3 separate regions of the Homo sapiens genome follow, and regions 2 and 3 are each linked to region 1. The links are contacts of gene promoters, found by promoter capture Hi-C in blood cells and fetal thymus (Javierre and others, 2016). All regions are on one chromosome and are shown on one strand. The core of a region is centred on a gene start or on the middle of the fragment in contact, and the rest is flanking DNA. Distances in the headings are between cores, read along the strand shown.

Region 1 (4,829 bases), core at 1,622-4,121:
CAAACACTATAAAACTTCTCGAAGAGCGGGCGCAGTGGCTCACGCCTGTAATCTCAAGAAATTTGGGAGGTCAAGGTGGGCGGAACACGAGGTCAAGACATTGAGATCATCCTGGCCAACATGGTGAAACCCCATCTCTACTAAAAATACAAAAATTAGCCAGGCATGGTGGCGTGCGCCTGTAATCCCAGCTACTCGGGAGGCTGGGGCAAGAGAATCACTTGAACCTGGGAGACAGAGGTTGTAGTGAGCTGAGATCGCACCACTGCACTCCAGCCTGGTGACAGAGCGAGACTTCGTCTCAATAAATTAATTAATTAATTAAATTAAATTAAATTAAACTTCTAGAAGAAACCATATAAAAGAAAAATCTGTATTAGGCCAAGATTTCTTAGATATGAAACCAGAAGTACTGTCTATTAAAAAATTGATAAATTAGATTTTCATCAAAATTAAAAATGTCTCCTCTTTGAAAGACACTGTCAAGAAAATAAAAAAGCAGGCCAGGCACGGTGGCTCATGCCTGTAATCCCAGCACTTTGGGAGGCTGAGGCGGGTGGATCACTTGAGGTCAGGAGTTCAAGACCAGCCTGGCCAACATGGTGAAACCCCGTCTCTACTAAAAATACAAAAATTAGCCGGGCATGGTGGTCCGTGCCTGTAGTCCCAGCACTAGGGAGGCTGAGGCAGCAGAGTCGCTTGAACCCGGGTGGCAGAGGTTGCAGTGAGCCAAGATAGTGCCACTGTACTCCAGCCTGGGCGACAGAGCCAGACTCTGTCTCAAAAAAGAAAAGAAAAGAAAAGAGAAGAGGAGAAGAAAAGAAAAGAGCAGGCCGGGCGCGGCGGCTCACGCCTGTAATCCCAGCACTTTGGGACGCTGAGGCGGGAGGATCATGAGGTCAGGAGTTTGAGACCAGCCTGGCCAATATGGTAAAACCCCATCTCTACTAAAAATACAAAAATTAGCCAGGCATGGTTGTGCATGCCTGTAATTCCAGCTACTGGGGAGGCTGACGCAGGAGAATTGCTTGAAGTCGGGAGGCGGAGGTTGCAGTAAGCCAAGATTGTGCCACCGCACTCCAGCCTGGGCAACAGAGTGAGACTGTCTCAAAAAACAAAACGAAACAAGTAATGGAGCAAAGCTTCTGTTGCTCCACATCCTCACTGGCATTTGGTATTTGAGGCATAATCTTAACACATCACAATCAAAGCCAACAGCCAACTTCCAAGCAAGTACATAATACACAAAGCAGAGCTGTGGACAATGTAATTACAACACAACTAAGGTTGAATTAATAAATAAATATTTTATACCATGTTTGTACTTGATAGTGAAAACATCTTCGTTTCAACAATCTGTGGAACACTTATAAAAACTGATATTTTAGGTCACAAAGAAAACTTTCATACATTGCCCAATGCGGAAACTGTACCATAATGTAATAAATGTTGAGATAACGAAAGTTAAAACAGCAACAAAAATAAATAGAGACTACTAAACACTTGTCAAAGTCATTATTGCTTTGGATTAAAGAGGTTTTTTTTTTTTTTTTTGAGATGGAGTCTCGCTCTGTTGCTCAGGTTAGAGTGTAATGGCGCGATCTCAGCTCATTGCAACCTCCGCCTCCCGGGTTCAAGCGATTCTCCTGCCTCAACCTCCTGAGTAGCTGGGATTACAGGGGCCTGCCACCACGCCCGGCTAATTTTTGTATTTTTAGTAGAGACAGGGTTTCGCCATGTTGGCCAGGCTGTTCTTGAACTCCTGACCTGATCCATCCGCCTCCGTCTCCCAGAGTGCTGGGATTACAGGCGTGAGCCACCGCGCCCGGCCAAAGAGGAATTTTTTGAATTTAAAGTCTATATAGAAAATAAGGAAAATAAGAGCCCATTCAACTACAAACCCATAGGGTGAAATGATTTCACTGTCACATACACACACACACACAAAACAATAAATTTTCCGTATTAAGAGGAAAAAAAGGAAAAGAATTCCCAAGGAAAACAGGGAGGCAATAAAGATAACCGGCGACTGTGACTGCTGGTGTACTGTGTCCTCCCCCAGTTAAGCAAACTATCATTCATCCACCTGTATGTCCGGGGAACAGGCTCAATCAACTCTGCGAAGCTTTCCCAAAGTCAGGCTTTCTGTCCTTTGGGCTTCTACAGTAGGCTGTTCATAGCGCTATGTTAGTATTTATTAAAGTTTTGCAATCCCAGGAAGTTTTTCACATCACTCTGCCCTTTAAATACCTTTGTTTACCACTTAGAATGTGCCAGGCAATTGGCATTAATTCACCGAATCCTTACAATTTTTTTTTTTCGCGGTGTGTGTGTGTTGGGGGGGGGCGGCGGGGGGGTATTCCTAATTTCCAGAAACTGAATCTCAGAAAGGTTAACTGAGCAAGGTCACAGAGCGAACGCATCACAAAGTCAGGATGTGGTGCAGATCGGTCCATTTTCAATACAAGCTCTTTCTACCACGACAGGTTATTTTGCACTTGGGGACAGTTTTTAACTTTCCATTCTCAACTCCTATCCTAGCTCCTGGCACAGAACATGTCATCCAAGTTAGGCATCATCGTCGCCTGCTCTTGGTGAAGTTTTCTTTTGCGTACTGCGGAGAGATGCGCTCATTACCAGCTGGCGGTGGAGTCGCTGAAACGCAAATGGATTTGAGACTGAGCGACTCCCATCTCTATGGTTGGTATGTGACCCATCTATCCTCTGGAGGACTCAGCAAGGACTACCAGTCACCAGACAACTTTACGCGCACGTGGTCGCAAGGTGAACTTGCTATTGGTTAATGGCAGTAAAGCCCGCCCATCAGCGCTGGTCTGCTCCTTTAAAAGAACGCCATCGACGCTCCCCTGTCTTTCAGCGCCTGCAGGTTCCGGGAGGTCAGGTTGTATTCCTGGCGGGTCGTCTGGCTGGGTGGGCCCCGGAGGTCGTGGCTCGGGAGCAGGGAGGCGTAGGGGGGCCGGCCTGCTGTGATGACATTCCAATTAAAGCACGTGTTAGACTGCTGACGCGGGTGATGCGAACTGGAGTCTGAGCCTGCCCGAGCGGAGCTGGGAGGGGGCTGGCGGGCGGGCGCGCGCACACCCGCTGATCTATCACTCTCGTTCTTGTAGCTCCCAGCCGAGGACGTCGGATGTCATCGTCCTTGCTGCTTTGCCACCCCATTCCCGTCAATAAAGTGGTTTGAACCCAACCCTGGTGTCGGTGTGTGTCGTTGGCGACGCGCTGTCTTTGAGCCCCCGCCGAGCTTCCTCGTGGCGCCGGGGGTCAATCTGCAGCGCTAGAGCATGTGCTTGCGCATAACTGGGGCCGCCTGGCCTCCCGCGGGCGGCCTTTTTAACCGCGAGCGACAAGAAGTAACCTGACTGTCCGGCTGCTAGGCTGGGCAATTTTCCAGCTGTTTTGCCACGACAGGCCTCAATCCGTAATACCAAGGCTGGAATGGCGTGTTAGGGGGGCGGTGGCTGACGGGGATACGCGGACTCTTGATGCGTAAGGAGTGCCCCTCTGCTCCCATACGTTCCCCAGCCCAGCCTTCCCTGAGTGTATCGCGCGCGCTGTGCCTTCGCCGTGAGTTCGACATAAGTCCCAGGCTGTCGCGTCTGCCATCAGACGCGCAGATTTAGTTGAAGGCAGCGTGGAATGGCGTCTGCAGGGCTGTTGTGTACTTGACATAAACAGATTCGGTGTGGAACTGCATTGAGTTAACTCCTGACTAAAGGGTAATCGACCTGTTTACAAATAACCATGCAGGAGTACTGACAAGCATGGGACTAAAGCTTTGGGCAGGTTAATCTGTCACTCCTAAACAGTTCAAAATTATAGGGCGGTTGTGAAGGTGAATTAGATTTTATATATGGTTGGGGACAACATAGACACCTAGTTACACAGTCCAGATTCAGTGATTGGTAAAAGATCTTCCACAAGGGCTCCAGTGAAAGGTGCATCAGTTCTGAGTACAGGGCAGCAATGGTGGGCAAGGATGCACGTATGCGTTCACTACATGGACATTCGATGAATGAAGGTGTCCCGAATTAACATTATACTAGACAATGAAGGGTGTAAACTGCAGCCCAGGAGCACCACTGCCCTACCCCCTCAGTTACGAACTTTCACTGGATTCTTTAAATGTGGGCTGAAGATAATGGCACATAGTTTGAAGGATGTAGTGAGGATGGCTTTGTAGCCTTAGGACTGGGCAGTGATCAACGCAGTAAATGAAAGCTGCGATTGCCAGGTGAGGGCCCCGGTGCTCTGTACTCATTTTATTGTGCCCCTATCTGAACAGGATTCCGTAGAAATGACTTAGATGCTTATCTAGTATTTGACATTGAGATATTTATTTTGTGAAACAATGCAAGCGATTTTAAATCCCCACATACTATTTGATTAAGTGCAACATGGTACAGTCATGTGTAATCTCTTTACACGATAGTGCATCTAGTCCTTAGCCTTTAGTTATTGCACAACAATTATAAAGACCAGTGACCAGGACACGTGGACTCTGACAGGCAGATCGGCCTACACAACGAAAAATCAGAACAGTACACCAACTGGAATGGTCAAACAATTTAAGTCAAATGTTTTAATGGTGCAATTAAAATAAGGGTTCAAACATGTTTTCAATATATTAATTTCTTTAAAGTCATGTTCAGGCAAGGTGCTGTTTAAAAAACCACTATTAGCTTTGTCCACACATGTAAGTTATCAAAAGTTACCCAAGGTAATTTTGACGTTGAATGCAGCTTTAAACAATAAAAAAATGGTATTAGGTTTACTTCTCGAAGCAAAGAGAGCCCCCAACCTTGTAA
Region 2 (4,829 bases), core at 727-3,226, 190 kb before region 1:
AGGGAGGAGCAAACTCATCCATTCATTCATTCATCCAGCCCTGGATGGTCGAGGAACCACGGGGACGTAGGTGGCCCTGGTCATGCCCGCATGACACTTATATAAGGAGTGGGGCGGGGCTGATGCCTGGGAAGGGACGGTAAGGGCATGAGGACACATGCGAAGGCCTCAGATAAGGGAGGAGGCGGGGACCCCGGCCCGAGTGGGGGGTCTGGGAGGCATGGGGGGCCTGAAGGTAGCTCTGAGGGGGCAGGGGTATGAAAAGGGGTCAGGATGGAGCCAGGCTATCACAGCCCTCAGAACATGGGCGTGTGGTGCCCCTAGCGTCTGAGCCTTCCCACCCGCAGGGTCTGTTTGGCTGAGGAATCCAGAAAGGGTGGAAAATGTTCCCCAGCCAAAGCCTCCATCCAGTGCCAAGGGAACCTGATCAGTGTTGGGAGCGGGAGTGGGGGAGGCGGGTGCTCCAGCCGGGCCAGGCTTCCTCCCACCTCCTCCTGCTGGGCCAGGCCAGCTTCCCGGCCCCAGACTCCACCCGGCAGGGGACCCCTTCAAGGCTGAGGGTGAGGCCTCTGAAGAGAAGGAAGAAGAGGGCAACTTGGGGGGCAGCTCTGTATCCAGAGTGGTGACCAGAAAACCACCATGGCCGGGGTGGGGGTCCTTGTTTTCATTAGACTAAAAGGGAAACTGAGGCACAGAGTGTTAGGTCAGCCAGGGCATCCACTGAGTTGCTTGCCCCGATTGTGCACTCAACTCCCTAAATCTCCCTTGGAGTTGTGCTCGCCCTCCTTGAACAAGTCCCCAGGCCCCGGCCCCGGCCCCGGGGAGCCTGGGACTTTGGTGCTCTCCAGCTCCCCCGCCACCTGAGTGCCTCATACCGAGGTCTGTGCCACAGTTGCCTGGGTATTTATAGCTCACAGGCACTCGCTTCCTGGTAAGCCAGCATATTTGGGGGGAATAAGGAGTCAAAAGCTTTCAGGGCAAAGTTCATTAGGCTCAGGCTGATGGTGCAGGGGTGGGCAGGGGCCCTCGTCCTAGCTCCTGTATGAGTCCTTTCCCTGCCAGAGCTGGACAGTGGGGAAGGGGGCTCAAGACCCAGGCAGGGTCAGCCTCAGCCTCAGCCTCAGCTGCTGGGGGTTACCACCGCTGCGTTCCTGTCCCTTCCTCGACCTCGCAGTGGAGGGGTGGGGAGGGGCATCTGAGCCCAGCAGCACACCCCCTGCATGGCTGAGGGGTCAGGGCTCCTGCCTGAGGCTTCTGTCCTCCTTGTCCTCAACTCCCGTTGGCCCCTAGCTCCTCTCCTGAATCCCCTGCCTGGATCTGGCACTTTGGCCCACACTGGGAGGTTGGGAGCAGACCCAGGTGGGGTCTAAACAGAGATAGAGGATAAGTGTGAGGACTGGGCAAGGGGCCTCAAACCCAGAGGAGAATATGTAAGAGAGGCCTCTCAGGTCCTGGTCCTGGAGCTGCGGTGCCCAGGTAAAAGCAGCATGTCCAAGGGCACCACCTGCTGGTGAGAGGGGCCCAGGTGTTCTGGTCCGAGGGAATCAGGGTTTCTGGACAGACAGGGTTGATCATAATAACCACATCAATAACGATAGTGACTGCCACCACTCACAGGGCGCGGACTGCATGCTTTACATACAGCGTCTCACATAATGCTTGCAACAATGCCATAGGGCACCACCCCCATTTTACAGCTGGAGAAACTGAGGCTCAGAGAGGACTTAGGGCTTGCTCCAGGTCACAGGAGAATTTGAAGCCGGGTCTGTCTGAGCCCCAGCCCCGGCTCACCTTGCTATCCTCAGGCTCTGAGAAAGTGTCGGTTTCCTCCTCGGTGGGCATCTCCAGGTCGGACTCCTCGGAGGCGATGGGCACCTGTATGGTCAGGTAGGGGTTGTTGATGAAGTTAAGGTGGTCCAGCTCGAGGCTGGATGGGGGGCCGTCAGCCAGGCCCATGTGGTTCAGGATGTGATTGTCCTTCTTCAGGTCCTCCTCGGGCGGCTCCTTCTTCTCATCCTCGGGGGCAGTCTCCCCCGCCTCTCCAGCCTCCCCGGCCCCGTCAGCCTCCCCGAGGCTGAGCATGATGTCCTTGGGGCTCAGGATCTTGCCATGCAGCAGCCCCAGGAGGAAGGCCTTGGCAAAGCCGATGCCCAACTTGATGCGCCCGATGGCAATCTGCAGGTTGTTCATCTCGCCATCCTCATCCGAGGCTGCCAGACTGTCGGCGCTGAAGGAGCTCAGCAGCAGAGCCAGGAACAGGTTCAGGACCTGGGGCATGGGGTCAGGGGGAGCCTCACATCAGTCCCCGGGACCCAGAGGGTGCCACCTTCAGCCAGCACAGGGGTCCTCGGTCTACAGATCCAAACTACCACATGTTGGGCATTTAAAAGAACGCCACCTAAGAGGTGTTCACAACTGCTCATGGAGGTGATGGTTATTATCCCTTCTGCAGATGGGGAAACTGAGGCTTGGGCTTCTGAGAGGACTCTGCTACCCAGGGCAGAGGCAGGGTTTAGGGAGGCCTGCTGGGGGACAGGAACTCTCTCCATGACTGTCCTTTTTTTTCTTTTTTTTTTTTCGAGATGGAGGAGTCTCCCTCTGTTGCCTCCAGACTCCGGGCTGGAGTGCTGTGGCGCGATTTCGGCTCACGGCAACCTCCACCTCCCAAGTTCAAGTGCCACCATGCCCAGCTAATCTTTGTATTTTTTGTAGAGACGGGGTTTCAACATGTTGCCCAGGCTGGTCTCAAACTCCTGACCTCAAGTGATCCGCCTGCCTCGGCCTCCCAAAGTGCTGGGATTAGAGGCATCACCACGGTGCCTGGCCCATGACTGTCCTTTACCTCCACTTCTGGAGGATGCGGAACAAAGAACTGGGCTCAAGTCGCCGAGCTTCCAGGACTTACTGGGAACCTTTATCTTTTGTGCCTTCTTCTCCACCTCTGTTAAGTGGGACTTTATAGACCCCGCACTCCTGGAGTGCAGAAGCTTGGCCCCTGCTACTCTGGAAGGGACATCTGACCTACTATTTACCCTCTTTTCTCCTCTTGGGGTTTCCGACTCCATCTATTCTGGTTCTTGTCCCACATCCCTACGGAAAGACTTAGGAGGCTACTGCTGCTCCCCCCCAGCACCCCCACCCACTTTATTTTCCAGTGGATAGACATTTCCTGAGCCCCCGTCACTGCATGAATGGCCTCAGGGAGCTCACAGACCAGCAGAGACAGAGAGCAGATCAATCACATGCAATACTGTGGGTTTGGGTGGCAGCAGAGACTGGAGTGCACAGCTTTTGAAACCACATTGCAGGGCTCTGAACCCCAGTTTATTAGCTGTGTGCTCTGAGGCAATTTGCCTCACTGCCCTGTGCCTCAGTTTCCTCATCTGTAAAAAGGAGATTATCCAAGTGTTCCTCCCATTGTTGTGAGGATTAAAGGATCAATAAAAGCCCAGGCGCAGTGGCTCACACCTATAATCCCAGCACTTTGGGAGGCTGGGGCAGGCGGATCACGAGGTCAGGAGATCAAGACAATCCTGGCTAACATGGTGAAACCCCGTCTCTACTAAAAATACAAAAAGTTAGCTGGGCGTGGTGGCATGCGCCTGTAGTCCTAACTACTTGGGAGGCTGAGGCAGGAGAATCGCTTGAACCCGGGAGGTGGAGGTTGCAGTGAGTCGAGATCACGCCATTGCACTCCAGCCGGGGCGACAGAGCGAGACTCCATCTCAAAACAAAACAAAACAAAAAAACAAAAAACAAACAAAAAACCCATCAATACAAGTAGAGCACACAGTAGGCACTCAACGCATGTTGGCTGTTATTATGTTTGAAATAATAGAAAGCTATACAAGGTGCTCCAGCCTGGCCAACATGGTGAAACCATGTACTAAAAATACAAAAATTAGCTGGGCGTGGTGGTGCACCTATAATCCCAGCTACTTGGGAGGCTGAGGCAGGAGAATCACTTGAACCCGGGAGGCGGAGGTTGCAGTGAGCCCAGATTGCACCCACTGCACTCCAGCCTGGGTGACAGTGCGAGACCCTGCCTTGAAGAAAAAAAAAAAAAGAAAAAGAAAAAGAAAGAAAGAAAGAAAGTTATACAAGGTGTAGGAAGAGTGTGGTGAACTCTGAGGCCAGCTCAGCATTTTATAGATGAGTAAACTGAGTCCTAGAGAGGTGGCGTGGCCTGCTCTAGGACACAGAGCATAGCCAGGACTCGAACCAGGATTCTAGTCATTGTATAACTTTAGAAGGCATCTTTCACTTAGCCTACAAGGTGAATGGCAGCCCTGAAGGTCTTTAATGTGGTCACCCTTCCTTCTACCAGTCTGCCTGGCCCTGGGCAGTGGGAGGAAGGAGAATCCTGGCTGGGGTGAGGGTCCCAGCTCCCATCAGCCAGAAGCATAGCCAGGTTCTTCCTCGGAGCCCTGGGGGAGTGAGAGGGCATGGGGAATTGGGGAGCCTGCACTTGCAGATCCGCCACCCTTGGCCGTCTCCTCGGCGGGTCTCACTCCTGGCTCTCACCAGCCTCCTCCAAGGTCTTCTCGTCATTGTCTTCACTACATTCTGTTGATTATATTCTGTTAATCATGTTAAATACTCTCTTTAAAAACTATCTGAAAACGCTCTTTGAGAGAATGTGCTAGGGGAATTTCCATGGCTCCCTTCCTCCCCGCCATGTCCCCTAGAGGCTTTTCTGCCTTTGCCCCCCACCAAAACGCATTAGTCTTTCTTCTCCCTCTCTGGGGGGAGGCATCCAGTTGCCAGAAACACATCTGAGATGGGAATTAGCTGCTCTCTGGGTCAGCAGGGTTTGCACACGGCTCCTG
Region 3 (4,829 bases), core at 1,480-3,979, 160 kb after region 1:
GGGATTATAGGCAAATGCCAGCACACCCGGCCCTTTCTGTTTTTAAACAGGTGTCTGATTTCCCACCTCCATTCCTTCCACAGCCCAGAGAGGTAGGACATCAACTCTTCAGTTTTCTATCTACTCACAGGTTTGATCTTTAACCTCTCAAGAACAATAAGCCAGAGAAACAGAGATAAGCGTTGAGTTGGGATTCAAGTTTACTTCAGCTGTTTCTGCCTGATCCACACATCCTAGGGCTCCTTCTTAAGTAGTTCCTTGCAACTTAAAGTGTATCCAAAAGTGATACTCCCTTCTTTTTTTTTGAGACTGAGTCTTGCTCTGTCGCCCAGGCTGGAGTGCAGTGGTGTGATCTCGGCTCACTGCAACCTCCGCCTCCTGGGTTCAAGCGATTCTCATGCCTCAGCCTCTTGAGTAGCTGGGATTACAGGTGCCCACCACCATACTCTGCTAATTTTTGTATTTTTAGTAGAGATGGGGTTTCACCATGTTGGCCAGGCTGGTCTCCAACTCCTGACCTTAGGTAATCCGCCTGCCTCAGCCTCCCAAAGTGTTGGGATCACAGGTGTGAGCCACTGTGCCCGCCTCCTTTTTTTAATTTTGAAAATTTCAAGCTTTCAGAAAAGTTACAAGAAATAGTACAATGAACACTTGTATATCCTTCACCTAGATTCATTTGTTGCTAGCATTTTGCCCATTTGCTTTATCTCTCCTCCTCTGTGTTTGTACACACACACATACACACACACACGCAAACATTTTTTAAAAATTATTTTAATTTTTGGCTGGGTGTGGTGGCTCATGGCTATAATTCCAACACTTTGGGAGCCCAAGGTAGGCAGATCACTTGAGGCCAGGAGTTCGAGACCAGCCTGGGCAGCCTGGGCGAAACCCTGTCTCTATAAAAAATACAAAAAGTAGCCAGGCATGGTGGTATGTGCCTGTGGACCCGCTACTCAGGAGGCTGAGGTGGGAGTATCACTTGAGCCAGGGAGGTTGAAATTGCAGTGAGCCAAGATCTCACCACTGTGCTCCAGCCTGGGCAACAGAGTGAGATCCTGTCTCAAAAAAATTATTCTGGCCAGCCACGATGGCTCACGCCTATAATCCCAGCACTTTGGGAGGCCGAGGCAGGTGGATCACTTGAGGTCAGGAGTTCAAGACCAGCCTGACCAACACGGTGAAACCCCGTCTCTACTAAAAATACAAATTTAGCCAGGCATGGTGGTGCGCGCCTGTAATCCCAGCTACTCGGGAGGCTGAGGCAGGAGAATTGCTTGAACCCAGGAGGCGGACGTTGCAGTGAGCCGAGAACACACCACTGCACTCCAGCCTGGGCAACAGAGTGAGACTTCCTCTCAAAAAAAAAAATTATTTCAATGTTTGCTAAATATTTTGAAAGTTAGTTGCAGGCATCATATTTCTAATATTACTTCACCATGTATCCCCTAAGAATGAGGACATTCTATATAATTACAGTATATTACCATGCTTGAGAAATTTAACATTAGGCTAAGCACAGTGGCTCATGCCTGTAATCCCAGCACTATGGGAGGCTGAGGCAGGTGGATCACTTGAACCCAGGAGTTTGAGACCAGCCTGGGCAATATGGCGAAATTTTGTCTGTACAAAACTTACAAAAAATTAGCCAGACATGGTGACGCACACCTGTGGTCCCAGCTACTCGGAGGCTGAGGTGGAAAGATTGCTTGAGCCCAGGAGGTTGAGGCTGCGGTGAGCCACCATCATGCCACTGCACTCCAGCCTGGATGACAGAGCAAGACACTGTTTCAAAAAAAAAGAAAGAAAGAAATTTAACATTAATACTATATTGTGATATATATTCCATATTCAATTTTCCCAATTGGCCCAATTATGTACTTGACTAGCTTTTTTTTTTTTTTTTTTTTTGAGATGGAGTCTCGCTCTGTTGCCCAGGCTAGAGTGCAGTGGCACGATCTTGGCTCACTGCAATCTCTGCCTCCTGGGTTCAAGCAATTCTCCTGCCTTAGTCTCCCGAGTAGCTGGGATTACAGGCGCCTGTCACCATGCCTGGCTAATTTTTGTATTTTTAATAGAGACAGGGTTTCACCATGTTGGTCAGACTGGTCTCAAACTCCTGACCTCAGGTGATCCACCCACCTTGGCCTCCCAAAGTGCTGGGATTACAGACATGAGCCACCGTGCCTGCCCTTGAATAGCTTTTTGAACAGATTGCATTTAGCGGTTCAGACCCTTTGGTCTCTTTTAATCTAGAGCAGTTTTTCAGACCATTTTGATCTTTTCTGACATGGATATTTTTGAAAAGTCCAAGCCAATTGTGTTAAAACTATAATTACTTTATGCTATTTGAATTCTACACGTGATCTTGGTCCTAGAGTGTAAATTTTATCTGTGCTGCCACCAGGTGGCGCACTTGGTAGGTCCTGGTCCTCAAAAACCCTTGTGAAAGGGCAACTTAAGGCAAGAAAACTCGTTTTGTCTCAATCAACTAAGGCTGTTATTTGGTAAAGCATATGATGTTGGCAGTGCCCATATATTTATAAAGGCACGTGGTGTCTTTTCCATAATCTGGGGATCTTGCTAATTAGGATTATAGTTTCGTAGACCTGTAATGGGTCCCAAGATTCTTTCTTTTTTTTTTTTTTTGAGACAGGGTCTCACTCTGCCAGCCAGGCTGGAGTGCTGTGGCGTGATCACGGCTGACTGCAGCCTCAAACTCCTGCGCTCAAGCGATCCTCCCACCTCAGCCTCCCAAAGTGCTGGTATTACAGGCATGAGCCGTTGTCCTGGCCAAGGTTCTGCATTTCTAACAATGGCCAAGTGATTGTGATGCTGCTGATTTGAAGAGCACGCTTTGAGTAGCAGGGGTTTAGAACAAGCCTATGAAGAACTATAATCTATTTACAATTAGTGGCTTCTGTTCTTGAGACAAAATCTCACTCTGTTGCCCAGGCTGGAGTGCAGTGGAGCCATCACGGCTCACTGCAGCCTTGACCCCTGAGGCTCAGGTGATCCCCCTGCTTCAGCCTCCTGAGTAGCTGGGATCACAAGCATGCACCACTCCACCTGGCTAATTTAAAACATTTTTTTGGAGACAGGATCTCTGTATGTTCCCCAGGCTGGTCTCGAACTCCTGGGCTCAAGGGATCCTCCCATCTTGCCCTCCCAAAGCGCCTTGACCTCCCAAAGTGCTGGGATTACAGGCATGAGCCATCATGCCTGGCCACTATTATATATATATATATATATATATATATATATATATATATATATATATATATATATATTTAAACAATTTTGGCCCCCACAGTGGCTCATGCCTCTAATCCCAGCGCTTTAGGAGGTCAAGGCGGACAGATCACTTGAGGTCAGGAGTTTGAGGCCAGCCTGGCCAACGTGCTGAAACCCCATCTGTACTAAAGATACCAAAATTAGCTGGGCATGGTGGTGCATGCCTGCAGTCCCAGCTACAAGGGAGGCTGAGGTAGGAGAATTGCTTGAACCCGGGAGGTGGGGGTTGCAGTGAGCCAAAATCACGCCACTGTGGTCCAGCCTGGGTGACAGAGCAAGATTCTATCCCACCCCCCCAAAAAACAAACAAACAAACAAACAAAAAACAATTTTATAACTTTATTTGGTATATTTGATGATTAGCAGTTAGTTCACATTCACACCGACTGTAGATTTTTTTAAAGTGGTAACAGGTACGTAGGCAACCGAAGTATAGAGCTTGTTTGGTAAATCTTTATCTTCATTACATTTTCTGGACAACCGAACATGGATACAGTATGAGACGTTGCTTATTCCTTTGGCCCAGACAGCTTTGTTGAGCCTGGTATCAAAGTGTGCATCTGGAGTTCCCATCTCCTTCAGGGCAAGTTTCCGGAGCTCTTTGAGTGCCTGAGGGGAACGCTTCTTGAAGCCCACTCCATGAATGCACTTATGAATGTTGATGGGGTATTCTCGGGTCACCATCTCGTTGATGGCGGAATGACCCTTCTTCTTCTCATCACCCTTCTTTGCAGGAGCCATTCTGCCGGGCCCAAGTTGGAAAGGAAATTGGCCACTATTCTTACATCATAATCAGTAGTAAAGCTAGTCTCATCTTCCACTACTTCCCCTCTTCCTCCCTCTACTCCAGCCCCTTGGCCTTGCTTCTTTCCCAGAGGGCCTCGACCCTAGCTTTCCCTTCTGCCTCGCATGCCATTCCCCCAGATATCCTTCTGCTTGACTAATTTCCTTGTCTCCTGCAAGTTCTTAGCTCAAACCTTTCTTTTTTGTTTGTGTTTTGTTTTTGAAACAGGGTCTTGCTCTGTCACCCAGGCTGGCATACAATGGCGTGATCATGGCTCACTATAGCCTCAACCTCCTGGGCTCAATTGATCCTCCCAAGTCTCCATAGTAGCTGGGACTACAGGCATGCATCACCATGCCCAGCTAATTTTTGTATTTTTTGTGGAGACGGGGTTTTGCCATGTTGCCCAGGCTGGTTTCAAACTCCTGAGCTGAAGTGATCCACCCACCTTGGCCTGTCAAAGTGAAAATTCACTTTCTTGATGAGGCTCACCCAGACATCCTTATTAAACACTGCTGCCTCCCCCACCCCCTCACACCCTCCCTTAACTTGCTTGATTCTTTGTTTCCTCCAGCCTTCTCCACCTTCTCACATATCATATAATCTACCTCCTGCGTTTATTGTTCATTTCTGTCTCCCCCTGCTAGAATCTAACTTCCATGAGGGAAGGGATCTTTGTCTGTCTATTGTCTTCACTGATATTTTCTGAGCACTTAGAACAGTGTCTGCACATAGTAGGTGCATATGAAAT

Evidence for each region. Contacts are between HindIII fragments. The CHiCAGO score rates a contact against its expected background, and 5 or more counts as called.
Region 2: a fragment that was not itself captured here is called in contact with the fragment with the promoter of SNHG25 in region 1 in 12 of 17 cell types (total B cells, naive CD8 T cells, naive CD4 T cells and 9 more); the score reaches 9.6 in total B cells.
Region 3: a contact is called between a fragment that was not itself captured here and the fragment with the promoter of SNHG25 in region 1, in 7 of 17 cell types (endothelial precursors, megakaryocytes, M2 macrophages and 4 more). The highest score is 11.4, in endothelial precursors.

Annotation. Positions count from the first base shown.
Region 1 is chr17:64,143,099-64,147,927 of GRCh38, forward strand. SNHG25 (small nucleolar RNA host gene 25) reads left to right here and starts at 2,872. Exons shown (of 2, transcript NR_132278.1): 1 at 2,872-2,902; 2 at 3,132-3,211. It overlaps SNORD104 (small nucleolar RNA, C/D box 104), which reads left to right and starts at 2,980; the gene lies at 2,980-3,059. SNORA50C (small nucleolar RNA, H/ACA box 50C) reads left to right here and starts at 3,241; the gene lies at 3,241-3,373. TEX2 (testis expressed 2) reads right to left here. Exons shown (of 12, transcript NM_001288732.2): 12 at 4,129-4,829. RefSeq lists enhancers at 2,559-3,113, 3,091-3,300. The HindIII fragment of the contact is 1,672 bases long and covers 2,124-3,795 here.
Region 2 is chr17:63,949,633-63,954,461 of GRCh38, forward strand. SCN4A (sodium voltage-gated channel alpha subunit 4) reads right to left here. Exons shown (of 24, transcript NM_000334.4): 14 at 1,792-2,268. Among named protein-coding and RNA genes, the nearest start is that of CD79B, 20 kb to the left of the region's middle. RefSeq lists an insulator at 1-2,220, enhancers at 1-228, 1,330-1,389 and a silencer at 1,357-1,651. The HindIII fragment of the contact is 2,018 bases long and covers 968-2,985 here.
Region 3 is chr17:64,304,656-64,309,484 of GRCh38, forward strand. It overlaps the pseudogene RPL31P57. Among named protein-coding and RNA genes, the nearest start is that of TEX2, 44 kb to the left of the region's middle. The HindIII fragment of the contact is 4,234 bases long and covers 613-4,829 here.